Regions from separate parts of the Homo sapiens genome. Here region 1 is linked to region 2. The links are contacts of gene promoters, found by promoter capture Hi-C in human tissues and cell types (Jung and others, 2019). All regions are on one chromosome and are shown on one strand. The core of a region is centred on a gene start or on the middle of the fragment in contact, and the rest is flanking DNA. Distances in the headings are between cores, read along the strand shown. Region 1 holds the start of LOC124901145 (a long non-coding RNA gene). Region 2 holds the start of PFN3 (profilin 3).

What was found. The method cuts DNA at HindIII sites, captures the fragments that hold promoters and counts their contacts. A contact is called where the count stands out against the background at its distance.
Region 1: a contact is called between a fragment that was not itself captured here and the fragment with the promoter of PFN3 in region 2, in 1 of the 25 tissues and cell types used here (dorsolateral prefrontal cortex).

The regions. Positions count from the first base shown.
Region 1 is chr5:176,982,035-176,985,274 of GRCh38, reverse strand. UIMC1 (ubiquitin interaction motif containing 1) reads left to right here. Exons shown (of 15, transcript NM_001199298.2): 2 at 2,652-2,806. The coding sequence starts at 2,660. LOC124901145 (a long non-coding RNA gene) reads left to right here and starts at 2,813. Exons shown (of 2, transcript XR_007059073.1): 1 at 2,813-3,240. RefSeq lists a silencer at 320-520. The HindIII fragment of the contact is 7,476 bases long and covers 1-3,240 here.
Region 2 is chr5:177,398,984-177,401,936 of GRCh38, reverse strand. It overlaps PFN3 (profilin 3), which reads left to right and starts at 1,276. Exons shown (of 1, transcript NM_001029886.3): 1 at 1,276-1,828. The coding sequence starts at 1,361. The coding sequence ends at 1,774. The HindIII fragment of the contact is 7,517 bases long and covers 1-2,953 here.

The sequences.
Region 1 (3,240 bases), core at 538-3,037, 420 kb after region 2:
CATGTTGGCCAGGATAGTCTCCAACTCCTCACGTCAAATGATCCACCTGCCTCAGCTTCCCAAAGTGCTGGGATTACAGGCATGAGCCACTGTGCCCAGTCTATGTTTCTCTCTATAGAAAAAAAAACCATTTTTTCCCTATATTTTTCTAAAAAAAATTCCTCTATATTTTTATTTTTTGTATTTATTGATCATTCTTGGGTGTTTCTTGGAGAGGGGGATGTGGCAGGGTCATAGGATAATAGTGGAGAGAAGGTCAGCAGATAAACACATGAACAAAGGTCTCTGGTTTTCCTAGGCAGAGGTCCCTGTGGCCTTCCGCAGTGTTTGTGTCCCTGGGTACTTGAGATTAGGGAGTGGTGATGACTCTTAACAAGCATGCTGCCTTCAAGCATCTTTTTAACAAAGCACATCTTGCACTGCCCTTAATCCATTTAACCCTGAGTTGACACAGCACATGTTTCAGAGAGCACGGGGTTGGGGGTAAGGTTATAGATTAACAGCATCCCAAGGCAGAAGAATTTTTCTTAGTACAGAACAAAATGGAGTCTCCTATGTCTACTTCTTTCTACACAGGCACAGTAACAACCTGATCTCTCTTTCTTTTCCCCACATTTCCCCCTTTTCTTTTTGACAAAACCGCCATCGTCATCATGGCCTGTTCTCGTTGGTCGCTGTCTCTTCGGAGCTGTTGGGTACACCTCCCAGATGGGGCGGCCGGGCAGAGGCACTCCTCACTCCTAGATGGGGCGGCCAGGCAGAGGCACTCCTCACTCCTAGATGGGGCGGCCAGGCAGAGGCGCTCCTCACATCCCAGACGATAGGCAGCCGGGCAGAGGCGCTCCCCACTTCCCAGACGGGGTGGCGGCCGGGCAGAGGCACTCCTCACTTCCCAGACGGGGAGGCCGGGCAGAGGCACTCCTCACTTCCCAGACGGGGCGGCCGGGCAGAGGCACTCCCCATTTCCCAGACGGGGTGGCGGCCGGCAGAGGCGCTCCTCACATCCCAGATGGGCCGGCCGGGCAGAGGCACTCCTCACTTTCCAGATGGGGCGGCCGGGCAGAGGCGCTCCTCACTTCCCATTCGGGGCGGCCGGGCAGAGGCGCTCCTCACTTCCCAGACAGGGCGGCCGGGCAGAGGCACTCCTCACTTTCCAGACAGGGCGGCCGGGCAGAGGCACTCCTCACTTCCCAGACGGGGCGGCCGGGCAGAGGCACTCCTCACTTCCCAGACGGGGCGGCCGGGCAGAGGCGCTCCTCACTTCCCAGACGGGGCGGCCGGGCAGAGGCGCTCCTCACTTCCTCCCAGACGGGGCGGCTGGGCAGAGGCACTCCTCACTTCCCAGATGGGGTGGCCGGGCAGAGGTGCTCCTCACATCCCAGATGGGGTGGCGGCCGGGCAGAGGCACTCCTCACTTCCTCCCAGACGGGGCAGCCGGGCAGAGGCGCTCCTCACATCCAAGACGATGGGCGGCCAGGCAGGGGCTCCTCACTTCCTAGACGGGGTGGCGGCCGGGTAGAGGCGCTCCTGACTTCCCAGACGGGGTGGCCGGGCAGAGGGGCTCCTCACATCCTAGACGATGGGCAGCCAGGCAGAGACACTGCTCACTTCTTAGATGGGGTGGCGGGCGGGCAGAGGCTGTAATCTTAGCACTTTGGGAGGCCAAGGCAGGCGGCTGGGAGGTGGAGGTTGTAGCGAGCCGAGATCATGCCACTGCACTCCAGCCTGGGCAACATTGAGCATTGAGTGAGCGAGACTCCGTCTGCAATCCCAGCACCTCGGGAGGCCGAGGCGGGCAGATCACCCGAGGCCAGGAGCTGGAGACCAGCCCGGTCAACATGGCGAAACCCGGTCTCCACCAAAAATACAAAAACCAGTCAGGAGTGGCGGTGCGTGCCTGGAATCCCAGGCACTTGGCAGGCCGAGGCAGGAGAATCACGGGAGCCTGAGGCAGGGAGGTTGCAGCGAGCCAAGATCGTGGCAGTATCAGCAACAGAGGGAGACTGAAGAAAGGAGGGAGAGGAGGAGGGGGAGGGGGAGAGGGAGAGGGCTATATTTTTAATGAGTAGTAGACAAGTTAAGAAATGCAGTTTTGCTTCTGTTAGATAGGGTTATCTTTTTCTTTTACAAGATTAAATTGAGGCTGGGCATGGTGGCTCACTCCTGTAACCCCAACACTTTGGGAGGCCAAGGCGGGCAGATGACCTGAGGTCAGGAGTTCAATACCAGCCTGGCCAACATGGTGAAACCCAGTCTCTACAAAAATACAAAAATTAGGCTGGATGTGGTGGCTCATGTCTGTAATCTCAGCACTATGGGAGGCTGACACGGGTGGATCACCTGAAGTGAGGAGTTTGAGACCAGCCTGGCCAACATGGTGAAACTCTGTCTGTACTAAAAATGCAAAAATTAGCCAGTGTGGTGGCGTGTGCCTGTGGTCCCAGCTACTCGGGAGGCTGAGGCAGGAGGATTGCTTGAACCTGGGAGGCAGCGGTTGCAGTGAGCCAAGATCGTGCCATTGCACTCCAGCCTGGGCAACAAAGCGAGACCATCTCAAAAAAAGACTAAGTTGAATAGCTTCTAGAAAACTTATACTTTAAGTAAATTATGATCTTTTTATTCTAGACAAAATTATTGTCCTTTTATTCTAGACAAAAGGATGCCACGGAGAAAGAAAAAAGTTAAAGAAGTCTCCGAATCTCGGAACCTGGAGAAGAAGGATGTGGAAACTACCAGTTCTGTCAGTGTGAAGAGGAAGCGTAGACTTGAGGATGCATTCATTGTGATATCCGATAGTGATGGAGAGGTTAGTGAAGTAGAGCTGAAAAGTAGAGCTGTAGCTCTCAAACTATGCTTCTTTACCCATGGGGAGTTTGTTTCGTGACTGACTTCACCTTAATGCCAGCTCACCAAAACCATGAAATTTTTACTCAGCTTTGTTTTAATTTGTAAATGGAATGAAGAATTACTTAAGGTAGTAATCCTGTTGCTTGGTTGAGGATGGATCATAGTTCTTCAGTTTTATAATATAGTAATCCAAAGTGGCATTTTGGAACTATTTGAATCATCTAAATCAATTGTAAATCTTAGTTTTCATGTGTCTAGAAAGTGAGAGGAAAAACACGTGAATGTTCTTAAGTCTCTTGATATGTTCTACATATAATAGCACCTAGCCATCTGTAGCTGTTTAAAAATAACTAAAATTAAAAATCAGCTTCTCTGTTGCACTAGTCACATTTC
Region 2 (2,953 bases), core at 27-2,526:
AGAAACTAACATTTTGTTTACAGAGCAGTAGTTCTCAGACCATACATTAAGATCACTTGGGGAGCGTTTTGAGCCAATCTATGCCCAAGTTCCACCTCAGACCAATTAAATCAGTATGTCTAGGGATGGGGCATGGGTAGTGGTATATTTGTAAAACTCCCCAGATAATTCCATGTACAGCCAAGGTTGAGAATCGTGGTTAGAAATACTTAGCATTGGCCGGGCGCGGTGGCTCACGCCTGTAATCCTAGCACTTTAAGAGGCCAAGGCAGGTGGATTGCTCAGGAGTTCGAAACCAGCCTGGGCAACACGATGAAACCCCGTCTCTACTAAAATACAAGAAATTAGCCGGGCACGGCGGCGTGCGCCTGTAGTCCCAGCTACTCAGGAGGCTGAGGCAGGAGAATCACTTGAACCGGCAGGAAGGAAGGAAGGAAGGAACAGAGGGAGGGAAAGAGAGAGACAGAAAGAAAAGAAAAAAGAAAATAGAAAAAAAGAGCATTGACTGTGGCGTGGACCCTAAGGGCTGGGTGACATATCGTTGTCCCCACCCCAACACGCACTAGTGTAGTGGGTCTGAGAGTCCCTTGGCTAGCAGTACCATCACCAGGGAACTTGTTACACATAACAAATTCTCGGGCTACACTTTATACTGCTGAACAGAAAGTCTGGGGTGGGGCCCAGCAATCTGTTTAACAGCCTTGCGGGGGATTCTGATGTTCTCTCATGCTTAAGAACCACAATCTGGGGGTTGAATGGTTGGTTCCCTTACAAGTGAAGGTCTGGCTGTCCAGACACAACATCCTTTTTTCACAAAACCAGCTTTTTAAAATTAAAAATAGATTGGCCAGATGCGGTGGTTCACGCCTGTAATCTCGTCACTTTGAGAGGCTGAGGCGGGAGGATTGTTTGAGCTCAAGACTTCCTGACCCGCCTGGGCAACATAGTGAGACCTCATCTCAAAAAAATTTTTTTTAATTAAAATTTGTTTTTGCTTTTTTAGAGACGGGGCCTCGCTCTGTGGCTCAGGCTGGCGTGCAGCGACACGATCCTATAATAGTTTACTATAATCTCGCTACTGAGTTCAAGCGATCCGCCCGCCTCGGCCTCCCAAAGCGCTGGGATTACAGGAGTGAGCCGCTGCGCTCTGCCAAACCCATCCTACAGGATAACCTTAGAACTGCGACAGCACTAAACGCCCACGCCCCACGTGCCCCAGCCTGGGTGGTCGCTCCGGGACGGCGCCTTGTGTGACGTCACAGCCCCGCCCAGCCTGCCTCACAGCGCCGCAGGCCTTCCCCGCGTGGCGCCTCTATATTTCCCCGAGAGGTGCGAGGCGGCTGGGCGCACTCGGAGCGCGATGGGCGACTGGAAGGTCTACATCAGTGCAGTGCTGCGGGACCAGCGCATCGACGACGTGGCCATCGTGGGCCATGCGGACAACAGCTGCGTGTGGGCTTCGCGGCCCGGGGGCCTGCTGGCGGCCATCTCGCCGCAGGAGGTGGGCGTGCTCACGGGGCCGGACAGGCACACCTTCCTGCAGGCGGGCCTGAGCGTGGGGGGCCGCCGCTGCTGCGTCATCCGCGACCACCTGCTGGCCGAGGGTGACGGCGTGCTGGACGCACGCACCAAGGGGCTGGACGCGCGCGCCGTGTGCGTGGGCCGTGCGCCGCGCGCGCTCCTGGTGCTAATGGGCCGACGCGGCGTACATGGGGGCATCCTCAACAAGACGGTGCACGAACTCATACGCGGGCTGCGCATGCAGGGCGCCTAGCCGGCCAGCCAGGCCGCCCACTGGTAGCGCGGGCCAAATAAACTGTGACCTGGGCGCGGCTGGCTCCTCCTCCACTTGCGCGGTGGGGGGAGTTGTAAATAAGGAAACTGGTCTTTGCAAGACGGTTACCTGGTGGAGCCGGGATTTTGAGTCTAGAGGCTGCCAGGCCCCTGTGCCCTACACCCTGCTCTCCCATGGACGCCTTGCAGAGGCTCCTGGCCTGACTGCTGCTCCTTGGCGCGTTCCCAGGGTCCTAGGGACTCCGCAGCTGAGGAAGAGTCCAAGGGTGGGGGCTTCTCAAAGTCTGTTTCAGCCTTAGCGTCCTTTCTCAGAGATATTCCCACACATTAGGCAGGACAAGTAAAGGGAGCCCCCTCCCCATCCCGCGAACACCTCTCCCCATCAGGGTGTCAGGCTGGAGGCCAATTTGCTCCTCCCCCCTCCACTCATACCTCAAGCACTAGCAAGTTGTGAGTGGGTGACAGGATGGGCTTGGTGGCTTGTAAAGCAGTTCTGGGGCTCACAGGCCTCTGCATCTCTGCCCACATTCCTCCAAGGGGAGCCTACTGAGAGGGCTCATGTCCAAGACCATCGCAATTGGGTTTGAGACCTTACATCCTGCCTTCCCCAGGCCTTCGAAAAGGCCCCGCAGGAGTCCCTGGACTAGAGGGAGGAACTCTGGCATCCCTACCCGGGAGTCTCACTCTGCAGGCCTCAGTTTCAGGGTGACCTATGGAGGAGGGGGAATTGAAAAGCTTGGGTAAGTTTGAGGCCTGGTTTATTGCCCAAAGATAGTGGACAAAAGTGGGAGGGAGGGTGTCTGGTCCCTGCCCTCCATGTGCTGGGGCCCAGGGCATGGCCTCTCTTGCCCACCCCCACCCTTCCCGTCCCCTCCCCCAGCGGCCCTGATGGCAGACCCCACCTGTCACTTATTCTGGAGCCCTGATCTTATCCCAGCAGGAAGGAGTGATGTGTGGCTGAGGTGGGTGAATTTAGAGGGCAGAGGGAGACCAGAGGAAGTTCAGCCAGGTGGGGGTCAGGGGGTGGGGGTGCAGAATCCTCCTTACACTTGCCTTGGGGGTGGCCCCAGGCCTAGGAGGGGCTTCCAGGGAGTTTGAATTGTGGTTTGGACTCACTAAGGTAGGGCCAGGCAGATGGTTGGGGTGAGCCTGCAGGGCT